2 separate regions of the Homo sapiens genome follow, and region 1 is linked to region 2. The links are contacts of gene promoters, found by promoter capture Hi-C in human tissues and cell types (Jung and others, 2019). All regions are on one chromosome and are shown on one strand. The core of a region is centred on a gene start or on the middle of the fragment in contact, and the rest is flanking DNA. Distances in the headings are between cores, read along the strand shown.

Region 1 (7,036 bases), core at 2,357-4,856, 160 kb before region 2:
AGAAATACTGTCCATTGATTTACTTCAGCAACTGCCTGACACATAATAGATATTCACTAATACTTTCTTTGCACCTCATAGCTTAAATGTCTTGAAGAAACAAAAATTGAATGCACAGGATCAAGGCACTAAAGCTTAGATAACACACTCCTGCATCGTTTCCCTGTTTTATCAAGATATCTTTCATCTTTATATCCGGCAATTTAGTGGCAACTCTTCGCTTTCCAACTGCGCACTGAGTCTTTCGGTCTCCTCCCCATTTTCCTAGTCGTCTTCGGTTGTGGATGTTGTAAACTCGACCATCCGTCTCTCAAGGTCTTTGGCTTCAAGGTTTCCCAATGCTCTGGAGCTGTCCAAGCCCCGGTACTCCGGGGTGGAAGACCTCAGATTCATTTGACGGGCTTGTGGAGGTTGGGGGTCTGCGGAGCCCCGTGTGGGTGGGGCTGGGCGCGGCCGGGGCGGAGCCGGCGAGGAGCCCTAGGGAAAGGGTGAAAGGCACAGTTGAGAAAGGCCCGCCGGGCATTGGTTTCACAGTTTCCACGAAGGCTTCGTGTGCAAGCCTGAGGAGTTTAGGTGCCTCCCTCCTGCCTCGCCTTTCTTGGTTCTAGAACCTTCAGTAGGCTTTTCTGGGTTGCAGGGACCCGGAAAAGCAGCGGCTTCCACTCGGGGGGCGGGTCCCAAGGGTCTTGCTGCTGCTCTGGGGCCGTTTGGACTCCTGGTGTTGGGGGAGGGGTCAGGGAGGTGCTGCTCGCGTCTCCTTTTGCGCCTGCGCGGCGGGCTCCGAGCGGGTAGGAGCGCGTGCGCGGTGACGTGGACGTCCGGTGCGCGCGCGCAGGCTCTTCAGCTGGAGCGGACACACGGTGTGCGAACCGAACAGAATAACCCGCCCCCAGCGGGATGTGAAGGACTCCGGGTGAGGCCGGCCACGCCCCGCACGGTAACTCTCGGGCCTGGGTGGAGGGCATCGCTTAGTACTGGCCCGATTGGAGTTTTTCGAGAGTTTGAAGCTCTTGTGTATTTGAACGGCGTGAGAAACGTTCCGCTGAGAGAGCTTCGCACGCCCTCGCCAGGCCGGGCCTTGCGCAGGGCCGCCTTTGGCGCGCCCCTGTGGTCCCTGAGCGAGGCTGCGCATGTCACCTCGCGCGCGTCCCCGGCCTCACTTCCGCGTCGCTCAGCTACCTAACTGGGAACATCGACGCCAGAGAGAGCGGCCACGAGGCGGGAGGGGTGAGAAGCGCCCATGGCTCGGCCCTGCCCTCGCGTGTGTGGGGTGCCGCTCCGCGTGGTACGGTCCGCGTGACGACTTCTCGCCCGGCGCCGGGCTCTAGGTCGAGAGCCACGCTTACGCGCTTTTCAGTTTAGAGCCTAGGTCTCGTGGTTCTAGAACTCCAAGGGAAACGGTGTCGGCGTCGCTTTTCTGAGAACTTGGCGCAGCGTTTTGACACCTGTGCAAACGTCTTTTCTAACAAGTAATTTCCGGCCAAATTGTTTGAGGCAGGACGTCAAGTTTAATAAAGGAGGGCGAGGAAGTGAGCTGTAGGAGTGGGGACTTGGTAAACAAAGGACCGGTGGTGTGTAAGTGCAGAAATGAGGGAGGGGAAAACAGGTGGGAAGAGCAGGTGTTATTTTCTTTATTCCTCTGTGGGGCAGCCTTTTACCTAGTTCTGTTTATGGGGTTTCCCGTTTCTGTTAAATGGTCAAGTAGGTCTCTGCCCTCAGTGCAAGGTATCTGGGACATTAACATCACCCCCCCACCGCCCCCCCAAAGCTCCAGTAGCCAAAGTTGAGGGATCTATGTGTCAGAAGAATATGGGGAAACTAGGGATCGTTTCAGACTGGGTCGGGAGTGCAAAAGTGGTAGTGTCTTGCTGTACAGATTTTTGCCTTGCCTTTCGAACCCTGGGAATGCCTTCTTTCTCTGGCCGGGGTGGAAGCAGGAACGGGTAAATGAGGTCTGAAAGGAGGGGTTACTGATGGCAGACCAACACGAGAAACCAAAGTGCACTCTTTTATTGGGAAGATAACTTTCCCAAGGTTCGCCTCGCCGGAGCAAACACGTGGATCATGAGAAGTCTCGAGCCCACCCGCGCGTGTTGTTGTAGAGCTTGCCAGGCTTATGCGGCTGAGTCCCTGGTTAACAACTGCTTGCTCTGTTCGTTCTTTTTGGGCACGATGCCGCGGCTAGGCTGCAGGGAAAGTGCCTGGGGGCGGCGTGACGGCTGCTGGGAAGGGGGTTGGCAGGGGAGGGTCTGGTGGCTGGTTCTGTAGTCTCCAAGGTAACAGAACGCGGCTGGGTCCCGCAGAGCGATCATCGGGTTCCGGCCGGCGGCACGTGATCTGTCGGGACTCTTCCCCGGAAGAGCTTTCCTTGCGGCATTTTTTCACGTGGTTCTTGGCCAGCTGTCCTTTGCAGTTGAAAAGCGGCGGTTTGTGGGTCATTAATAGTCGACGGCGTCTGCTCCTCTCGGGGAAGGCAGTGAGACCGAGCCTTTTACTTTCCTGCGTATCGGAACAGCGCTAGTGTTTCTTGCCGCCAACGGTTGTTTCTAGCGTTTGTGTGGGTTAAGTGGGTTGGGTCCACTTTACAGAAAACACAGGCTAAAGACTTGAGGAAATTCAGTGCCCTGGGTACCTTGGCATACTTACTTCAAGTTTGACTACTGCCAGTTTCTGCCTTAAAAGTTCTTCAAATTCTGCTTACCCAACTGCTAGAGACCTGTCAGCTTTCTGGCCCTGAGTTGTAGTTAGGGTCCATTCTTAGGAATAAAAAATACTCCTGCGGCTAGCAGTAACAAATGATATCTGGGAAGAGAAGGAGGCAGTACTCTCTTACGCAGGTGCAATTCTGTGCCTTAAAACCTAAAAGTGTTTCAGATAATATTTTGACATTTGCCCTATAAGGTTGTGACGATAAAATGCCCAGGATATTGTCTGTTCCGAAGTGAGTAGTTCTTAATAAATGGCAAGTACCATTTATTAAATTAGTAAAAATAAGCAAATGATGGTTAAGAGCGATTAAGAAAGTATTAATAGTTGGCTATTTTACTGTCTTTGCCACCATTTGCTTTCATTTTATTATATTTATATCCACATTCTGTTTTTAAGAAACTTAAAATTTCTTGACCCAGTGTTTATTGGCTAAATACTGAAATCTGAGTGAACCTGTTCTCTTGAAATTTGAGTTTCACAAATGTAATTTAACCATATTCTTATAGTGAAGGATCATATTAAGGAATATACTAACATCTTGGTGCCTGCCATACTACTGTATTTATTGTATGAAAGGTTGTAGAAGTTTGTAGCAATTTGGAAAACGTTCAGAATGTGTTGCTTAGCATTTGAATATTTGTGTTTTTAAATAATGGTATTGACTTGGAATTTTGATTTTGTGTAACTAATTTTTGGGGTTGAGCACAGTACATTAATCATTGAATTAGGAAACTATCTAGTAAAACTAGTGTATTTTGTGAGTTGTATGAGGATCATTGCTTTAGTAGATAAACATTTCCCAAAGAGGTCACTGGTGAAAAGACATTAAAATAGGGAGTCTGAAATTGTAACAATTTATGGAACTTGTTAGATTACTTACCTAAAAAATGTTTTCTATGATAGCTTTTGTGTGTGTATATGTCTTCTGGTGTGACATTTCAGAGTGTTACTGAATTTTCCCCTCCACAACTTATTTTGTTGGCTTTTTATTGTAGCTATTTTATCTAGATAAAAAAAAAATTTGATGTTGAAAAGCCGAATTGAAAGTTTTTGAATGTTAAGGTATATATATACCAAAATTGTGGTTTTCATTAAAGCTTTTAGTTTCCCAGAGTATTTTTAGGATGTTGCTAGAAGATTTATTTCTTCATGAGTAGCCTACCCTTTTCTTTTCTTTATTATTATTATTGTTGTTGTTGTTGTTGTTATTATTTTGAGACCGAGTCTCACACTATCTCCAAGGCTAGAATGCAGTGGTGCTATCTCGGCTCATTGCAACCTCCTGCCTCATCCTCCCGAGTAGCTGGGACTACAGGTGCGCAACACGACGCCCGGCTAATTTTTTGTATTTTTTGTAGAGAGAGGGTTTTGTCATGTTGGCCAGGCTGATCTTGAACTCCTGACATCAGGTGATTCGCCCGCCTCAGCCCCTCAAAGTGCTGGGATTACAAGCGCGAGCCACCGCTCCCGGCCTAGCCTACCCCTTTCTAAAGTACATTTGAGTTTTGCGGTTGGCTTAAGTAGACTTTAGAGTGGTCTTGGTGTGTCTGAAACAGCTGAATATCCTTAATTGACTGCCCTTTGATTAGAAAATTCAAATGTTTTACAATATTTATCTTAGAAAAAAAAGAAAATTCATATGGTAGCTCCAAACCTAGGCATATGCTTATAGCGAAGTGGAATCTGTGCCTAGATTGATGTAGAATAAGAATTTCATTCCATGTTCTTAAACCAGTAGCTGTTATGGCTCAAGATAGAGATGGTTTTAGTCATAAATTAAGTCTTTAATTCAATGCATTTTCATCAACTAATGGATTAATTTGATTAGTGGAGTTAAAAAACCGGCCTTATACAAATCATAAGTCAGAAGTTTATTTTCCTGTCTTCAGGCACATTTTTACATTTTTTTATTATATGCCTGTGCACAAAGTTGAAATAGGTTGATATGACTTCTCTGCACTAATATTTTGCTTCGGCAGAAAGAAAAACTCAGTGTGTGTATATAAAGTTAGTGTAAAATTTACTTCAAGTGCAGTCTGATTTTCACCAAACTGGGTTTTTGTCAACTGCATCTTTGACATTTCATAGATTAATCTTTAAAAGACAGTAATTTTTAAAGAATTGGTTAAAACTTCTCTGTCTTGGTTTTACTGGTAATGATCTGAAAACCAAAATTTTAGTTTATAGAAAGATGTTTAATAAATTCGGCACCTTTTCATGTAATTTATAGGTTTGGGATAACTAGATTTTTTTTCATATACTTCTTTGCTGCCTTAGTCATATGAAATGCACCTAAGGATGTTGTGCTCACGTGGAACACATACACACAAAGGATGTTTTGCATACTTATTCACAAAAATAGTTGGTGATTTGTAATAAAACCTTGAAGTTTATGAATTAATAAGTACAAGCTAGGAGTTTGCATTGTTTGAATTATACATCATTGTAGAGGTATTTTTTTTTTGCCAGTTCTTTAAGCTTTAATATTTTACCTTATTTGTGACTTCCGTTTAGTTTTGTTTTGTCAGTCTCTGATAGGTATCGCCTAAGTGTGTTAGTTTTAGAAAACCAATCAACTTCATAGGTAAAAGCTTGAGGCAGCTTTTGAAAAGAATCACTGTACATTTTATCTCTTTTAAAAATAAACTTCACATCAGAGGAGAGATTTTTTGTTGTTGTTGTTCCTGACCTTTCCTGATATTAGTGCTTTAGTGTTGGGAAGTGAATTTCTATTTTTATCTCTAGTCATAATAGGAAACAATAGTAAACCTTTTGAAGTCGTGATTTTAAAAATATCTATTATCTGTAGACTAACAGATATTTTAAGCTTTGGAGCTGTATGACCAATCTTGTAAGAAGAGGTAAAATTCAGATTAGGTGCTTTTGCTGCTCATCATTAGCTCTGATGAAAGGTAAAATACTTTTTAATTATAATGAAGAAGACTAATAAGTGGCTGAATTTGATTAAGATTACTGACCCACTTACACAGGAGTGGTGGTGATGTAGCATCTTCCTTTTTGTATAAAAACTGGAAGCTGTAGCTTTAATTTGGCATATGAGTTCGGTTGATTTTAGCAATCAGATTTCGTTTTGGTTTTTTTTTTTTGAGACAGGGTCTCACTCTGTCATCTAGACTGGAGTGCAGTGGCACCATCACAGCTCACTGCAGCCTTGGCCTCCCCACCCCCAGGCTCGAGGGATCCTCTCACCTCAGCCACTCAAGTAGCTGGGACTACAGCTACACACCATTGTAGAGATGGAGTCTCACTGTGTTTTCCAGGTTGGTCTCAAACTCCTGGGCTTAAGCGATCCTCCTGCCTCAGCCTCCCAACGTGCTGGCATTATAGGCATGAGCCACCATGGCCGGCCTCATTTCTTTATTATAACTTTTTATTGAGATATAATTCACATAACATATAATTCATCATTTTAAAGTATACACCAAAAAGAAATCCCACACCCATTAGCAGTTAGTCCCAGTTACCCCTTCCCCTGAAACCACTAATCTACTTTGTTTCTCTAGATTTGCCTGTGTTGGACATCTCATATAAATGGAATCATACAATATATGTGACCTTTTTCTTTATAACCTTTAATAATTAACTAATTTTAACTTTATTTTTTATTTTTTTAAAGAGACGGGGTCTCACTCTGTCTCCTAGGCTGGAGTGCAGTGATATGGTTATGGCTCACTGCAACCTGAACTTCCAGGGCTGCTGAAGGTGTCCTCCTGCCTCAGCCTCCTGGCCACCATACCTGCTATTTTTTTTTTTTTTTTGGTAGAGACTGACTGGCTATTTTGACCAGGCTGGTCTTGAACTCTTGACCTCAAACGTTACTCCCACATGGGCCTCCTAAAGTGATGGAATTACCGGTGTGAGCCACTGCACCTGCCCACCTGGCCTGTGTTTTAGTTTTTAAAGGTTGTGTGTTCACAAGACACAAAATTTACAAAGTGTAAAAGGGTATCTTTTCCAAGTCATCAAGTTTTCCTTGGATATGACCAATACTACTGTTTTCTTTTCTGTCTTTCCAGAGATAGTCTGTGTAAAGCAAATATGTACATGTTCTTTTTCATTCTTTGGCTTTTTATTTATTTTAAAGACCGAAATACTGTCTATTTCTTTGATTTTAAAAAGGAAAAATCTTTTACAAGGGTTGAAAAACTACCTATCAGGTACTATGTTCACTGCTTGGATGATGGGATCATTAGAAGCCCAAACCTTATATTATGCAGTAGACTCATGTAAACAAACCTGCACGTGTTCTCCCTGTCTGAAGTTTAAGAGGTACAATAAAAAACTTTTAAAAGATGTGTGGCATAAT
Region 2 (6,797 bases), core at 1,874-4,373:
GGAGTTGTCATAAGGAGTTGCTTATAAGATGTAGACGGTTCTGCAATCCAATGGGTTCCTCCTTGGGCGTCACCCCCAGAGTCTGCCTGCATCCCATGTTCCCTGGCCATACATGCTGATCTTGGCGGGTAGAGTTCCCAGCTAGTCCCTTCTGAGGCAGGCTGGACCCAGGTGGGGCCCCTCCCTTTTATATGTCTGTTGACAGGCTCCTCCACCTCACTTCTGGGGGTGCTATTTCAGGTGGCTGGCTGCAAGATGCCCTCAGCAGAGCAAAGTCGGATTGCCCAGCTCCTCAGAGACACCTTCTCTTCAGTGCGACAGGAGCTGGAAGCTGTGGCTGGGGCAGTGCTGTCCAGCCCAGGCAGCAGCCCTGGGGCTGTGGGAGCCGAGCAGACACAGGCCCTGCTGGAGCAATACTCAGAACTGTTGCTTCGAGCCGTGGAACGGCGTATGGAACGCAAACTCTGAGTTCTGGAAGCCTGTCCCAAGTGAATGAATGCTCCAGCGATTCCAAACTGCAGCCCCTCTGCCCCTCACCAAAACCTGCGGGGCTGCTTGGAGTGGAAAGCAGGGAGCAGTGTTCAGAGGCAAAGCAGCCTTCCCAGCCGCTCCTCGTGGGGGGCCTGTATTTATTAATTTATTTCCCTGACTGTTGCCTCACTTCCTTGGAACTCCTGCCTCCACAGCCCCTCCAGTGGCAGGGACAGGTCTTGGGTCTTTGTCATCTTGGTGCTGTGAGAGGTAGGAGGGCAGCCTGCCCCATCTAGGAATCTGGGAAGGGCTGGCCCTCTCTTAGAAGCCATTTGAAATTACTGCAGGGATTAGCTCCCTGTGGTGGAGCATACACAGGGTACTCTGGGGTCGAGGTGAGAGGTGATGTGGTATTCAGTGCCCGTCAGCCAACTGTGGGCCTTCACCTCTACCTGCACTTCCCCTCTCACACCAGCTGCACTCCCGTGGCTGCCAGAGCAGGGTGGTTTTCCCCAATACCTGGAGCTCAGAAAGGCAGAGCCATCTGGCCCTCCAGGGTGTCCCCAGCCATCAGGAGACTTGAGTTGGTATTTGGACCTGAGCCCGCACATTCCACTCCCATTCTCCCTCCAAGAGGGGCCCAGCATTGTATTTCCCTGTGACCCCTTACTCTCCTGGCCAGAACTTGAGCCAGCTGTGGGATGTTGCTGCAGGACAGTAAGCCCTCACCTGGGCAAACATGAAGCTCTGGCCTCCTTTCCTCAGCCCCTTGTTCTTCCCTGTCCTCCACCCTGGACCCCAGCCGGCTGCTGGAGCCCAGAGGCCACCTTCTCCCTGCATCCTGAATGATGCTTAGTCAGAAGCCTGTGTTGGAACATCCCTCGTTTACGGGGCGCTGGCCTACCTCCTGAGGACCTCAGCCACAGATGAGATCACACGCATGCACGTGCACACATGTACACACACACACCTACCTGCACAGCACGCTGTTGAGTGTTGGTTGCTAGAGTATCTGGCTGGCTGCTGTGTGCCTGGTTTCCTCACATCCTGCCTCAGCTTCACCACCCTGGCTTATGTGGAACACCTATCAGGGAGCAGAAAAGGGGTGCAGTACACTAAGTGAACCCAGATTCTGGATTCTTGGTGTCCACAGCCTAGCTGATACGAGATAGCCCATAGGACACCTGGTTTAGGTAGAAGGAGCCTCCTCAAAGGCAGTGCTGGGCACCCACGGGTGTGCTGGATACTGGAGTTTGAGAGGAGGGAGGTGCTGGGGCCAAAGGAGACACTAGAAAAGTGGTAGATGGGACAGGTAAGTGGCAGAGGTGAGGGGATAAGTTAGAATGTAAAAGGGCAGTAATTAGGGGTGAGGGAAAGGAGATAGGGGACCCTAGGAGGTAGAGTGGGACCATGTCGTGAGGCAGTTGAAGAGTTGAGGAAAGGTTTTTCTGGGCCCTACTGCTCCCCTCTGCTGCAGGTAAGTCAGAGCAGCTTTACCACAGCTTCAGGCCACGAGAGCCCCTTCACCCGCCCTGCTGCGCCATAGGCAGAGGCTTATAAAGAAATGGGTTCTGGGCCAGGTGTGGTGGCTCAAGCCTGTAATCCCAGCACTTTGGGAGGCCGAGGCGGGTGGATCACCTGAGGTTAGGAGTTCGAGATCAGCCTGGCCAACATGGTGAAACCCTGTCTACTAAAAATAAAAAAATTAGCTGGGCGTGGTGGTGGGCGCCTGTAATCCCAGCTACTCGGGAGGTTTAGGCAGGAGAATCGCTTGAACCCTGGAGGTGGAGGTGGAGGTTGCAGTGAGCCGAGATCGCGCCATTGCACTCCAACCTAGGTGACAAAGCTACACGCCATCTCAAAAAAAAAAAAGAAAAAGGGTTACAAAAGGTTCCCAGCTCCGGGGCATCAGCCTGAGTGCGCTTGAGCTGCTCCAAACCTGGCCCTTCCCCACTCCTCTAGCATCGCCACCCGCATGGCCCTGGAACTCCCGCGGCGGCGGGGGCGGGCCCGTGCCTGCTGTGCCCCGACTTCCCACACCAGCCGCGCCCACCGCAGGTGGGACTCAGGTTCGCCCTCTGGGCCAGGTCCTTCACGAGGAGGGAGCTACCCTTCGCCAGAAGTTTGTGAGAATGTGGCCGCCCTTTTCCTGCCCTCTGCCCCATGTGGGTGGGGGGCCTCGTGGCCCGGCCGGCGCCCCGTCCCCTTCTGCATGTCTGAGGCCACCGGCAACCGCCGCCCCACTCCAGATTTGCCCCCGCCTTGTTTTGAAAGCCCCTTATTTATAACTTTTATACTTTGTGCAGGTCGCGGCGCTTCCTGCCTCATCCTCGGCTGCATGGGGCGGGGGCGCTGTTTTTAACGTGCCCGTTTGTACTGATGTATGAACTTGTCAATAAACACAATTGTTTGTTAACCCTGGGATGCCGGCCAGTGGGGCAGGCCGAAGCGGGCGCTGCCAGTCGCTCCACCGCTTCGGTGGCAGAACCCGGTGTGTGTCCAGGGGCAGGACGGGGCGGGGTGCTGGGGGTGTGGCCTGCGGCGGGTGCCTCTGGAAGGGCGGGGCGAGGGTCTGGGGGTGTGGCCTGCGGCGGGGACTCTGGGGAGGGCGGGGCGAGTGCTTGGGGTGTGGCCTGCGGCGGGGCGTCGGGGAAAGGCGGGGTCTCGGCCGGCGCTGACGCAGCCATGGCGGAGGCGGCTTTGGAAGCCGTGCGGAGCGAGTTACGAGAATTCCCGGCCGCTGCAAGGGGTGAGTGGCTCTCCCACAGGCTGCGGCGATTTCCGAACACGGGAGGGGCCCTGGGATGCCGCTGACACCGGGGGCTCGGAACCTCGTGTGTGCGACTGCCCTGAGGCCCCGCTCGGGTTGCTCTTCTGTGGCAACCTGCTTCCCTTCTCCCGTGTTCGCGCGCTCCCGCGGCTTCCTGGGTGATTCTGTTCACGTTGTTCCCAAGGCCCGGTGCCGTCTTGACCGTGGTCGCGGCGAAGCCCTGTGTTTCCTACAGTCTTGAGCAGCTTGCTGTTACCCTTGTTGAAAGCTCATCGAAGGCACACAGCTGGTGGTCGGATTCCTCCCCCACGCGCCCCACCTCCGACCTCAACTCCCTTGTCGCACTTTGGGAGGATTGCAGGCTGACCAAATGGTCCCTGGCTCTTCCCCTGCTTGGTTTTTATTCCTTTTCTTTCTTTCTCTCTTCCCTCCTTCCTTCTTTTTTCTATTTTTAAATGATTTCTTACCACTGAACAGCAACACAGGCTCATGTGTATGTGATGGGTATGTAATATACAGTGGTACGCAATGTAAATGAAGCAAGGTTTCCTCCCAGCCCCAGTTTGCATTCTTACAGAAAGATTGTTTATATCCGTGCACACACGACTTTTTACCCTTTTTTTGTACAAATAGTAGCCTGCTAAACACACTCTTCTGCACCGTGTATCTTGGAGATCATTTCACATTCCTCTACCTCAGTCTTTTTCACGTCTGTGTGCTAGTGCTGTATTCACTTAGTCATTTAGGTCATGTCCAATCCGTTGTTTTCAATAATGCTGCAACGAATACTTTGAGGATTGATTTAACAAATACTTATTCAGCATCTCTGTGTGCCAGGCTCTGTTCAGTGTGTTTGAGATACATCACTGAACAAAACAAATCTGTCTTTTACAGTCTATGTCCTGTTACATTCTAAGTGAGAACGTGGACAATCAACCACAGGTGTACTGAATGAGTACATTGTAGAGTAGAAGAAGTAGGTTAGAAGGTAAGTGCAGGCAAAGCCCTCTTTGGGAGTATGCCTGATGTGTTTAGGAAACAGTGAAGAAGCCAGTCTGCAGGAGCAGCGTCTTCTGCGCATGTGTGAGTATGTTTGTTGGTTAAATACTTTATATTTTTTGAGACAGGGTCTTACTCTGTCACACAGGCTGGAGTGCAGTGGCACGATCATAGCTCGCTGCACCTCGACCTCCCAGGTTCAAGAGATCCTCCTGCTTCAGCACCTGGGAGTAGCTGAGACTACAGGCATGCGCCACCACGCCTGGCTAATTTTTTTGAATTTTAGTAGAGACAAGGCTGGTCTCAGATTCCTCAAACAATCCTTCCACCTCAGCATTCCAAAGTTTTGGAACGCCATGGAACACATAAGCCACTGCTCCCGGCCTTGTTAAATTCTTAGCAGAGTTATGGGGTCAAAGCAATTGTTTGGATCCCTTTTGAAATTTTCTCACTTGGAAGCCCCAGGAGAGGAAAGCAGCCATTCTCTAAAGGAAATGGTGAGCAAGTAAAACAAATCCCTAATTGCAGAAGTCCAAAGGGTGAAAAAATGGCAGTTTCCATGTATTTTCAGAATCCCAGGCTGTGTGCAGTACTCACGCCTGTAATCCTAGCACTTCAGGAGACCAAGGTGGGAGGCATCTCTTGAGGCCAGGAGTTCAAGACCAGCGTGGGCAACATAGTGAGACACCATCGTGTGGTGGCATGTGCCTGTAGTCCCACCTCCTGAGGCAAGAGGATTGTTTGAGTCCAGCAGTTTTGATGACAGTGGCGGGCAGTTGGAAGCAGATGCTGTCATCATGCTGGCTGCAGTGGGGAGGCACAAGTCGGGCAGCAGAAGTGGCTCTGGGAGCAGCAGTGGTGGTAGTGAGTCCCCTGTTCCCTGCATCCCCGAGGCAGCCGACTGCACCACCCCCACCCTCACATGGCTGGGCAGGACCTGCTCCTCAGCCCAGACCCTCTGCTGCAGCCTGAACCTCGCTCCCTGCCACATCCCAGAAGCCTGCGAGCACCCTGCCAAAGGTGCAACTGGGACTTGTAGGGACTTGCACTTGTGAGTACAAAAATACTCACACATGTGCACAAAGACCCTGCTCCTGCAAACTGGCTTCTTCACTGTTTCCGGAACACAGGACTACTAGGCTCATTTGTTTGGGGTGGTCAGAGCTGCCATGCCATATGCACCTTGCCCGCCGCCGCTGTGGGGAAAACGTGAAGAGGAGAGGCAGCTGGGGCCACATGTTCCACAGAGCTGGCGGGAACTGGGGACAAGTGGGAGCCCCACCCCTTCCAAGTTGGTGGAGTGGGAGCTCCCTAGGCGCAATTACAGCCACCCAAGCCAGGACTGCAACTCAGGCACCCCTGTGCTCTTGGGAGCTAGGAGCAGGCAGGAGCCCCACCCTCCTAGATGCAGCTGCAGCCTCCCAAGCTGCAGCTGTGGACCCAGGCATGTCTGCACTTTTGGGGACCCAGGAAGGCCCCTTCCTGCTGCCGCAGGCTTGGAAGTGCCTGATCCTGCTGTCTGGCTTCTCCCCACTGTCAGCACCTGATCAGATCATGGAGCAAAGTTGAGGCCGAGCCTGGGTGCTATTGCAGTGCTGACACACCAGCCCCCTGCCTCCTTGGCCCCCTCTGGCCTTTGGGTGCCAACGAGCATGGGAGGGAGGCCAAGAGGGGCTGAGGGCAGCTCAGTGCTGGCCTGCAGGCACCCCCTTGGCACAAACAGCTTGGGTGCCGTGAATGGTGGCAAGAGGCAGACAGGTTCCTGGGTGGAAGGTGGCGGGTCCCGGTGAAGCCCGACCTTCAAGCCAGGGAAGGCCTGAAGCCTGGGGGCTGGGCTGCCGGTTCCATGGACCGGAATGGGAACTTTTGGTGCTTTTTCCGGCCCACCCATGGCTGCCCATGGACCAATAGGCATGTACCTCCTCCCCTGTGAGACCCATAAAAAGCCCCTGACTCAGCCAGACCAGAAGAGACGATGGGACGACCAGCTGCGGGGAGGAGCTACCCTCTCTGCTGAGAGCTGGAGAGATGACAGGACAACCTGCCCACAGAGAGGAGCTACTCTAGCCAGGGAAGCAAGCAGGCATGCCAGCTCTTTCTTTTCCAGTATTCCTGGGCCCAGTGGGGTCTTCTCACTCAGTTACAATATTTGATCTAAGAACATTCACTTTCCAACTGATCAGAAAGTAAAGGTGACTGGCATGGTGTGGCTGTGAGAGATGCAGTGTGACCTCAGAGGTGAACATCAGTGCCGGGACCATTTGGAGCAGGATGTGGTAACCACCAAATGGAAACCACGGCCTTTTGGCTCGACCTAGAGCATGAATGTAGCAAAGCGAAGCCCTGTACACTTTATAAAAACCAGCAGAAAGACACTCCAGTCTGAGTGAGCAGCTGGAACAAAGCTCTGCTGAGCTGAACACTCAACAGGACTACCTGCCTGCAGAGAGAGGAGCTATCCTCTTTGCTGAGAGCTGAACACTCGTTGGGACACCCTGGCTGCGGAGAGGAGCTGCCCACTGTGGGTCTCCTCTGAGCTATCCTATGGCTCAGTAAA

What was found. Contacts are between HindIII fragments. The study calls those that stand out against the background at their distance.
Region 1: a fragment that was not itself captured here is called in contact with the fragment with the promoter of JMJD7 in region 2 in 1 of the 25 tissues and cell types used here (dorsolateral prefrontal cortex).

The regions. Positions count from the first base shown.
Region 1 is chr15:41,659,589-41,666,624 of GRCh38, forward strand. MGA (MAX dimerization protein MGA) reads left to right here and starts at 817. Exons shown (of 24, transcript NM_001400225.1): 1 at 817-937. The HindIII fragment of the contact is 3,273 bases long and covers 1,971-5,243 here.
Region 2 is chr15:41,824,969-41,831,765 of GRCh38, forward strand. It overlaps JMJD7 (jumonji domain containing 7), which reads left to right and starts at 3,124. Exons shown (of 8, transcript NM_001114632.2): 1 at 3,124-3,220. The coding sequence starts at 3,157. MAPKBP1 (mitogen-activated protein kinase binding protein 1) reads left to right here. Exons shown (of 31, transcript NM_014994.3): 31 at 241-2,887. The coding sequence ends at 468. It overlaps JMJD7-PLA2G4B (JMJD7-PLA2G4B readthrough), which reads left to right and starts at 3,124. Exons shown (of 25, transcript NM_005090.4): 1 at 3,124-3,220. The coding sequence starts at 3,157. RefSeq lists enhancers at 794-1,676, 2,722-2,951, 2,983-3,277 and a silencer at 3,012-3,101. The HindIII fragment of the contact is 30,158 bases long and covers 1-6,797 here.